Linked DNA regions of Homo sapiens: all the other regions are linked to region 1. Evidence: promoter capture Hi-C in human tissues and cell types (Jung and others, 2019). All regions are on one chromosome and are shown on one strand. The core of a region is centred on a gene start or on the middle of the fragment in contact, and the rest is flanking DNA. Distances in the headings are between cores, read along the strand shown.

Region 1 (3,433 bases), core at 356-2,855:
CTAACCAGCTGGCCCAATGTCATCTTAAGAGTCCTTAAAAGGGCCAGGTGTGGGGAGGTTGAAGCTGCAGGGAGCCGAGATTGAGTCATAGCACTCCAGTTTGGGAGACGGAGTGAGACAAAAAAAAGGCTGGGCAAGGTGGCTCATGCCTGTAATCCCATCACTTTGGGAGGCAGAGGCTGGTGGATCGCTTGAGGTCAGGAGTTCAAGACCAGCCTGGCCAACATGGTGAAAGCCCGTCTCTATTAAAAATACAAAAATTAGCGGAGCGTGGTGGCGGGTGCCTGTAATCCCAGCCACTCAGGAGGTTGAGGCAAGAGAATTGCTTGAACCCAGGAGGAGGAGGTTGCAGTGAGCCGAGATTGCACCACTGGACTCTAGCCTGGGCAACGGAGTAAGACTCCATCGCAGGAAAAAAAAAAAAAAGGAAGATGTGCCTATGGAGAGAGGACTGTCTGAGGTCTGAGAGACTCCACCTGACATTGCAGGCTTGCTTTTCTGTTTTTTTTTTTTTTTTTTTTTTTTTTGAGACGGAGTTTTGCTCTGTCGCCCAGGCTGGAGTGCAATGGCACCATCTCAGCTCACTGTAACCTCTGCCTCCCAGGTTCAAGCGATTCTCCTATCTCAGCCTTCCCAGTAGCTGGGATTACAGGTACGCGCCACCACACCTGGCTAATTTTTGTATTTTAAGTAGAGATGGGGTTTTACCATGTTGGCCAGGCTGGTCTCGAACTCCTGACCTCAGGTGATCCACCCACCTTGGCCTCCCAAAGTGCTGGGATTACAGGTGTGAGCCATTGTGCCCAGCCCATTGCAGGCTTTCACAGAGAAAAGGGGCAGGAGTCAGGCGCGCAGGCAGCTTCTGGAAGTTAGAAAACACAAGGAAACAGATTCTTCCCTACAGCCTCCAGAAGGGAATGCATCCTGCCAACACTTTGTTTTTAGCTCAGCAAGACCTGTGTGGGCCATCGAACCTACAGAACTGAAGGATAATACATTTGTGGGTGTGTGTTTTCAAAGACACTAAGTTTTGGTAACTTGTTACAGCAGTAACTGGAAACTAAGACATGCAACAAGCCTTATTGTTCATTTTTACCACCACTACTGGGCTGTTGGTTATGGTGGAATTACACTTTTCTCTTCCATTAGGCTGTGTGAACTCCTTGAGGTTGTGCAATACGTTTGTCTGATTTACTACTGGTTAGCAGGCTCTGAGAAGAATGGCTGGTACACAGGCGGAGCTCAATAAAAGCCCTTACTGAATTTTATTCAATCTATATGTGGATGAAGACCTCCGCCCCGCGCGCCCCTCCCGCAAGTCCCACTGAGGCCCGACCCATTCTGTCCGGCTCCCAGCCCCCGCGGGTCCCCCCACCCCGGGGCTGACCGGGTGATTCAGGCAGCCCTACATCCTGCTGGGGTGGTGGGCTTCGAGCGCGGGTCCCAGGACGCAGTGGGGCGCAGTGCCTGCGGCAGGCGGCAGGAGGCGAGCGTGGCCCAGGAACTCCCGCGGGAGGGTCGGGACGGGGCGGGGCTTGGGGGCGGGGCGGCTCAGCGCGCAGGCGCGGGGCCAGGCGCCTCGCGCGGCCAGGGGCGGGCGGCCGCAGAGCAGCACCGGCCGTGGCTCCGGTAGCAGCAAGTTCGAACCCCGCTCCCGCTCCGCTTCGGTTCTCGCTCCTTCGGCCCTTGGGCCTCCAAACACCAGTCCCCGGCAGCTCGTTGCGCATTGCGCTCTCCCCGCCACCAGGATGCCGGTAACCGAGAAGGATCTAGCTGAGGACGCGCCTTGGAAGAAGATCCAGCAGAACACGTTCACACGCTGGTGCAACGAGCACCTCAAGTGCGTGAACAAACGCATCGGCAACCTGCAGACCGACCTGAGCGACGGGCTGCGGCTCATCGCGCTGCTCGAGGTGCTCAGCCAGAAGCGCATGTACCGCAAGTACCATCAGCGGCCCACCTTTCGCCAGATGCAGCTCGAGAATGTGTCCGTGGCGCTCGAGTTCCTGGACCGTGAGAGCATCAAGCTCGTGTCCATCGGTGAGTTCTCTGGCCGGGCCCAGGCGCCCACTGTGGTGCCGACCCGCCCCCGCGCGTGCACCCCTGCGGAGGGCGAGGATTTCCCGCAGCGCGCCCCCACCTCGGAGATAAGGGGGAGTCGTCCCCAGGGGTGGGTTATAGGGGGCCTAGACCCCCTCCCCGGTGTCTTCCCCTGGGATGGGACCTGTTGTGATCGCTCCCCGCCATCCGCCCCAGCAGTGCACCTTTGGCTGGCTAAGGGTTGAGGGTTTGGGCTGGGGTCACAGGAGGAGAGGTGGAGTTGTTGCATTTCTCTACACCTGGGGCGCCCCTATGGGAGCTAGGGGACTAGAAACCCTCGTTCGCTGTCCCCGGGGGCGGGCCCTAGGGTCAGATGCTCCGCGGAGTGCTCTCCCTGCTGCGCCCAGGTTGGTGCTCTCAGAGGCAGCTGAATGGGCGTTGGCTCGGAGGCCGGGCCGTGAGACCTGAGGAGGAACCGTTCTCTGCGCCTGGGGCCTCCCTGCCCAGGTGGAGACAGAGACCTGGTACCTTCCCCTGCCGTCGCTGGAATGGGTGTGGGCCCCGAGGTTGCAAGGGTAGGCGCGGGTGTGTGTCCTCGCTCTCTCTGCTCCCAGCTCAGCTCTGGCCGCGCGCCGCAGGTTGAACCCACTCCTTGCTGCCGAAGTTATAATTTAGAGATGGTGGTGGTAACAGTAATTGCTGTCTTGTAGGGAGCCCAACTAGCGTCCACTGTGTACCGTCAGCCTTCTAAGTTATCTCCGTCCCTACGCATCCTGCCATCTGGGGTGAGGCTAGACCCATTTTACAGATAAGGGGGTCCGGAGGGTTAATTGACCTGTCCAAGGTCAGCAAGTAGGGCCCAGCTGAGAACTGAAGGAAGTGGGCAACAGTTAGAAGGAGGCTTTGTTTTCCTCTCCTCTCCCAAACCTACACCAGGGTCTTCCTGAAAGGAGGGAGGGAATTGGTGTCTCTTGCTGGACTGGGCCTTCTGGTCTGGGGAGGAAGAATAAGGATGAAGTCTCCCTTGTGGTCTGAGATAGTTGGAGGCTTCCCAGAGGGCCACAAGGCTACTGATAGTGTGGGCTGTGATGGTAGGGGCTGTGATGTGTGTGTGCATGTGGGCGTTTGTGCAGAGAACGTGTGTACACACATAGCATGTGTGTATAGCATGTGCATATGCAAAGAGTTTGCATGTACACGGAATGTATGCAGAGAATGTGTATCCACCTACACGTGTGTATGGGTGTGTGTATGTGTGTGTGTGTATGTGGGTGGGTGGGTGTGGGTTGGGGCAGAGGAGGGTTCTGGGTCTGGATCTCTTCCTAAGGAGAACCAGGGACTGGCCCTGGCCTGTGATTTGGGTCTCTTCCTGAGGAAACCAGGTCACTATAGT
Region 2 (3,433 bases), core at 515-3,014, 120 kb before region 1:
CATTGTGTGGCCCAGTGGGTGTAATAAGCCCTGCAAATGCATGTAAGACTTTGTCAGCTTCTTATTGCCTCACCCTTGAATATGAAGAGAAAGCCAAGATCAGACTTTTGAGGAAATTCTTTCTTGACAAAGACAGAGATCAAACCAAAAAACAAACAAAAAAACACACACAGAAAAATGTGAGTAGGGAAGAAATAGGAAAAAGGTAAGAAGCAGAAATTTTTTTTTTTTTTTTTTGAAACGGAGTTTCGCTCTTGTTGCCCAGGCTGGAGTGCAATGGCACAGTCTCGGCTCACCACAACCTCCACCACCCAGGTTCAAGCAATTCTCCTGCCTCAGCCTCCTGAGTAGCTGGGATTATAGGCACCCACCACCACGCCCGGCTAAATTTGTATTTTTAGTAGAGACAAGGTTTCTCCATGTTGGTCAGTCTGGTCTCGAACTCCCGACCTCAGGTGATGCCCGCCTTGGCCTCCCAAAGTGCTGAGATTACAGGCGTGAGCCACTGCACCCAGCCAGCTTGTTTGTTGTTGTTGTTGTTTTGTTTTGTTTTGTTGTTGTTGTTTTTGTGTTTTTTTTTTTTTTGAGACAGAGTCTTGTTCTGTCGCCCAGGCTAGAGTGCAGTGGTGCGATCTCGGCTCACCACAACCTCCACCACCCGGGTTCAAGCGATTCTCCTGCGTCAGCCTACCGAGTAGCTGGGATTACAGGCACCCACCACCACGACTGGCTAAATTTGTGTTTTTAGTAGAGACAGGGTTTCTCCACGTTGGTCAGGCTGGTCTCAAACTCCCGACCTCAGGTGATCCGCCCGCCTGGGCCTCCCAAAGTGCTGGGATTACAGGCATGAGCTACCGCGCCCGGCCATCTTGTTTTTGTTGTTGTTGTTATTGTTGTTTTGCTTTTCGGTTTTTGGTTCTTTTTTTTTTTTTTTTTTTTTTTTTTTTTTGAGACAGAGTCTTGCTCTGTCGCCCAGGCTGGAGTGCAGTGGTGCGATCTTGGCTCACTGTAAACTCTGCCTCCCAGATTCAAGCGATTCTTCTGCCTCAGCCTCCTGAGTAGCTGGGATTACAGGCGTGCATCACCATGCCCAGCTAATTTTTGTATTTTTAGTAGAGACGGGGTTTCACCATGTTGGTCAGGCTGGTCTCGAACTCCTGACCTCGTGATCCACCCACCTTGGCCTCCCAAAGTGCTGGAATTACAGGCATGAGCCAATGCGCCCAAGAAGCAGAAACTTTTTTAAAGATATAATTTTTTTTTTTTTTTGAGATGGAGTCTCGCTCTGTTGCCCAGGCTGGAGTGCAGTGGCATGATCTCAGCTCACTGCAACCTCTGCCACCCAGGTTGAAGCAATTCTCCTGCCTCAGCCTCCTGAGTAGCTGGGATTACAGGTGCCCGCCACCTGGCTAATTTTTGTATTTTTAGTAGAACCGGGTTTTCACCATGTTGGCCAGGCTGGTCTCGAACTCCTGACCTCAGGTTATCTACCCACTTTGGCCTCCCAATGTGCTGGGATTACAGGCATGAGCCACTGCACCCAGCTTAAAAGTATAATTTTTGAAGTTTTATGGATGAAGCAAGATAAAGATGGTATTTTTTAAAGGAGCAAAATGCAAATAGAATTTTTGAAAGCTAAAAATATGATACCAGATTTTTAAAAACTGTAGGAAGATTGAGGAGAAGGTAGAGGAAATGTCCCAGAAAATATAAGAAAAAGGCAAGAGGTTTTTTTTTTTTTCAAGAGGGAAAATTAAAGAAAATTTGAGGTTTAATCCTAGAGATCTAATATATTAATAATGAATTCCAGAGGGGGAGAATAAGGGGGAGAGAGAGAATGGAATAATTTACCAATTAAGTAGAATACAAGATAATTCCCCAGAAGTGACAGATACGAGCTTATAAACTGAAAAAAAAAATGCACCGAGTACTTAGCACAATATATTTTAAATGACCACACACTAAGCCAGACACAGAATGTCATGTGTTATATTGTTTTATTTATATGAAATATCTAGAACGGGTAAATCCATAGAGATAGCAAGCAGATGTGGGACTGCCAGGGACCGGTGAGGTGGAGGTGGGGAATAAATGCTTAATGGGTATAGGGTTTTTGTTGGGTAATGAAAATGTTTTGGAACTAGGCACAACATAGTGAATATACTAAATTCTACAGCATTGTTCATATAGTTGTTTTATGTTATGTGAATTTCACCTCATTTAAGGAAAAAAAAGAGAAAAAAGAGACTACACACTGAGGAATATGAAATTTAAGAGCACCAGGAATAAAGAGAAGATTCCGAAACCTTCTAGAGAGAAACAAAGGATATCATATAGTCATAATAAGCTAAATTTATAATATAGTAATAAATAAGCCATGAGATTTTTTTTTTTTTTTTTGAGTTTCACTCTTGTTGCCCAGGCTGAAGTGCAATGGTGTCATCTCAGCTCACCTCAATCTCCGCTTCCTGGGTTCAAACGGTTCTCCTGCCTCAGCCTCCTGAGTAGCTGGGATTACAGACATGCGCCACCACATCCAGCTAATTTTGGGGTTTCTCCATGTTGGTCAGGCTGGTCTCGAACTCCTGACCTCAGGTGATCCGCCAACCTCGGCCTCCCAAAGTGCTGGCATTACAGGCATGAGCCACCATGCCCAGCCAAGCCATGAAATCTTAATGGCTCAACTAAACAAACATTTATTTCTCATTCACACTACATGTCCATGGTGAGGAAGACCACTCTGCTCCATATTGTCACTCAGAGATCTAGACAGATGGAGTCTTTACTATCTTATGATGTTGCTGTCTCAACACACAGCTTCTAGAGTTCCTGTGGTGGGATAAGGTGTAAAAAACTTAAACTTTCTCTTAAATGCTTTGGCCCTGGCTAGCATCAGTCCTATGAATCTTCCTCAGTGCTAGGGAGTTGGGATGTGCAGTCCTCCCTGATGCCCAAACAGAACAGGCAAACCAGATATTACTGAGTGCAAGAAATCCCTACTATGTGTACTGAGGAACAGGATTCAAGCTGTATTAGACTCACCTTCTGGTTGGAAGCTAGAAGACAGTGGAATAATGCTTTCAAAATTCTGATGCAAAAGTATTTCCTGTAGATTTGTGTATCTAGTCAAAGCATCAATCACATGTGAAGGTAGAATGCTAACATTTTCAGAGAAGCAAAATCACAAAGTATTTACCTTCTGTCCACCCCTTTTCAGGAAATTATAAGAGGATATGTTATAAGAAAACAGAAAGAGGAAGGTGGGGATATATGATGTGATAAATTACTTGGTGTGTTTGACAATATTGAAAGTTGTATGGTTCTGTGAGAACTTGGGCTATGTTTGAGATATATAAAAATTAATAAAACAAAAAAATGAAGCATTATAAATTCTGAGTATACCGAAGGCCATACAAGAAAGGAAATATAATTA
Region 3 (3,433 bases), core at 247-2,746, 66 kb before region 1:
AAAAAAACCAGAAACTGGAAACTGGACTTTATGTTCACTTTCCAGATTAAAAAGGGGGAAGAAGGCCCTGTGTGAGGCAAGCAAAGCACACCTGCAGGCCCAGTTTGGTCAGTGGAGCTACCAACTGGCAACCTCTGGTCTAATTAAGCCTAGAATTCTAAAGCACTAGAGGTGCCTTATGCTGGGGTTGGACTTCACAGACCAATAAAATGTTCCAGAAATTTTGGAGCTAGACTCAGGGTTGCCAAACGTTTTATTTTACTGAATGTCTTAGTCCATTTTGTATTGCTTTAACAGAATACCTGGGACTGAGTAATTTATAAAGAGGTTTATTGCCAGATGCCGTGGCTCACGCCTGTAATCCCAGCACTTTGGGAGGCCAAGGCAGGTGGATCACGAGGTCAGGAGATCGAGACCATCCTGACTAACAGGGTGAAACCCGGTCTCTACTAAAAATACAAAAAAAAATTAGCCGGGTGTGGTGGCAGGCGTCTGTAGTCCCAGCTACTCGGGAGGCTGAGGCAGGAGAATGGCGTGAACCTGGGAGGCGGAGCTTGCAGAGAGCAGAGATCACACCACTGCACTCCAGCCTGGGCAACAGAGCTAGACTCCGTCTCAAAAAAAAAAAAAAAGAAAGAAAGAAAAGAGGTTTATTTAGCTCACAGTTCTGCAGGCTGGGAAGTCCAAGGAGCATGGCACCAGCATATTCTTGCTTCTGGTGAGGGCCACATGCTAGGTCACAACATGAAGGTCAAAGGGAAAGCAGACACCTGCAAAGAGAGGCAAAACCCAAGGCACGCCCTGGCTTCATAACAACCCACTCTCCCCAGAACTAATTGATTCCTGTGAGAACTAATCCAGTTTCCTCAGAGCAAGAACTCAATCACTATGGCAAGAAAGGCACCAAGCCATTCGTGAAGGATCCACCCCCGTGACCCAAGAACCTCCCACTAGGCTTCACCTCCCAACATTGTCACATTGGGGATCAGGTTTCACCATGACTTGGTGGGACAAACAAGCAGTATTCAAACCATATCACTAAGCTATAACAGTTTTTAATGTAAAAAACATACCAAACGCTACTATTAACTCACCATTTAATTAAAGAAAGGCCATTACAATACTTGAAAAATAGGATACACCAGGTTTGCAGATGCTGCTGCCACTGGGAGCCCCGTATTACCAGCCATGGTCAACCCCACCATGGTCTTCGATATTGCTGTCAACGACAAGCCCTTGGGCCGTATCTCCTTTGAGCTGTTTGCAGACAAGTTTCCAAAGACAACAGAGAACTTTCATGCTCTGAGCACTGGAGAGAAAAGATTTGGGTGTAAGGGTTCCTGCTTTCACAGAATTATTCCAGGGTTTGTATGTCAGGGTGGTGACTTCACATGCCACACTGGTGGCACATCCATCTACAGGGAGAAATTTGATTGCAAGAACTTCATCCTGAAGCATATAGGTCCTGGCATCCTGTCCATGGCAAATGCTGGACCCAACACAAGTGGTTCCCAGTTTTCATGTGCCCTGCCAAGACTGAGTGGTTGGATGGCAAGCATGTGGCCTTTGGCATGGTGAAGGCATGAATATTGTGGAGGCCATGGAGCGCTTTGGGTCCAGGAATGGCAAGACCAGCAAGAAGATCACCATTGCTAACTGTGGACAGCTCTACTAAGTTTGACTTGTGTTTTATCTTAACCACCAGACCATTTCTTCTGTAGCTCAGGGGAGCACCCCTCCACCCCATTTGCTCGCAGTATCCTAGAATCTTTGAGCTTTCACTGCAGTTCCCTTTGGGTTCCATGTTCTCCTTATTCCTTTCATGCCTAGCTGGATTGCAGAGTTAAGCTTATGATTATGAAATAAAAACTAACAGCAACAACAAAAAAGGATACACCTAATCCACAGTTTCTTATGAAACCCTGGAGGCCAGATGTATTTTGGAATTGCAATGTATTTACATTTTTGAAAGGTTAATATGGTGAATGTAACACTTCATAGTAAAATGCAAAATTTCCAGTGAACCATGTGAATATTCAACTAAGTGGAATAAGTAAAGGCTATAAATAACTATGTCAGTTCAGGTCAGAGTTTTCTGCAAAATGAGTTTTTATACCAAACCAAAAAAAAAAAAAAAAAAAAACTTGGTTTTCAGAGCCCTTTGCATATGGACTGTTATCAAGAAAGGAAAAGTCCTTTAAATGGACCAGCTTTAGGGCTATGGCCTTATTTTCCTCAGGTCACCCTAGTCCACTGGAGATTGCACTAATGGTTGGACATTTAGGAGCGTCTGATCTAAGCCAAAGCAAATCTTTATACAACTTCCCCAGTTTCATCTGACTCCCTCTTGAAACTGGTAGCAAGCCACCGCACATGGCAGCATTTCATAATGTTAAGTGTTCCTAAATCTGTTTTTTAGTGTTTCATAGCTGCATTGGTCCTAGTTCTAATTGCTGTGCTACCCAGAACTCAACTCCTGCTTTTATGAGACTCCTCTGGAATGTACCTCTCCAAGCTGGCATAAGGCCCAATGAGCTTGGCTCCCTTAGCTGTCCTTGTCGTGTGACAAGCTTGCCTTCCATGCCAAGTGCCTTCAGGGCTTTCCAGAATGGCTCCCATGTGGCCGGGCACAGTGGCTCACACCTGTAATCTTACACTTTGGGAGGCTGAGGCAGGAGGATGGCTTGAGCCCAGAAGTTCTAGATCAGCCTGGGCAACATAATGAGACCCTGTCTGTACAAAAAAATTTAAAATGAGCTGGGTGTGGTGGCACATGCCTGTAGTCCCAGCTACTTGGACGGCTGAGGCAGGAGAATCACTTGAGCCCGGGAGGTTGAGGCTGCAGTGAGCCATGGTCACACTACTGCACTCCAGCCTGGGCAACAGGAGACCCTGTCTCAAAAAAAAAGTTTGAACAACCAAGTTATATCGATGGTTTGCATTGACTCGGAATTAAATGACTTCTCCAGAAAGCAGCCTGAGAAACTGGAAGGGGATGAGACATTGGAGGCGGGCCTCGAAGGACTGGAAAGATTTGGGCTTATTGGGGATATAACAGAAAGGCATTGCAAGGGGAAGGTGGGAACATGTCAGGTGTGAATGAGTGGTTTCATGCTGGCTGGAGCTAGGCCTGGTGGAAGAGCAGCATTTGGAAAGCACATCAGGAAGAGGACATTTCAGGCAAAAGAAATGGTTGAGGCAAGAGGGAGCTCGCTGTGTGTGTGCCTGCATTGTACAAAAACTGCCCCCAGTGCAGGGGAGGATTCACACTTTTGGTTGTGATGAGCCAGCTGGCTGGCTTAAGCAGAAAGAGAACTTATCATGAGGCTACAGTGCAGGGTATTGCTGTATCTGCCTCTCTGTCTTCATCCCAGTCTACATCAGAAATTCCTCTCCCTGCTCTCAGCCCCTGGAGGATTTCTTCTGTGACCCT

What was found. The method cuts DNA at HindIII sites, captures the fragments that hold promoters and counts their contacts. A contact is called where the count stands out against the background at its distance.
Region 2: a fragment that was not itself captured here is called in contact with the fragment with the promoter of FLNB in region 1 in 2 of the 25 tissues and cell types used here (bladder and mesenchymal stem cells).
Region 3: a contact is called between a fragment that was not itself captured here and the fragment with the promoter of FLNB in region 1, in 3 of the 25 tissues and cell types used here (IMR-90 fibroblasts, hippocampus and pancreas).

What each region holds. Positions count from the first base shown.
Region 1 is chr3:58,006,817-58,010,249 of GRCh38, forward strand. FLNB (filamin B) reads left to right here and starts at 1,606. Exons shown (of 46, transcript NM_001457.4): 1 at 1,606-2,040. The coding sequence starts at 1,749. The HindIII fragment of the contact is 12,217 bases long and covers 1-3,433 here.
Region 2 is chr3:57,884,853-57,888,285 of GRCh38, forward strand. All of the region lies in intron 14 of SLMAP (sarcolemma associated protein), which reads left to right. Among named protein-coding and RNA genes, the nearest start is that of FLNB, 120 kb to the right of the region's middle. The HindIII fragment of the contact is 6,777 bases long and covers 1-3,433 here.
Region 3 is chr3:57,940,630-57,944,062 of GRCh38, forward strand. It overlaps the pseudogene PPIAP16. Among named protein-coding and RNA genes, the nearest start is that of FLNB, 66 kb to the right of the region's middle. The HindIII fragment of the contact is 3,365 bases long and covers 1-3,179 here.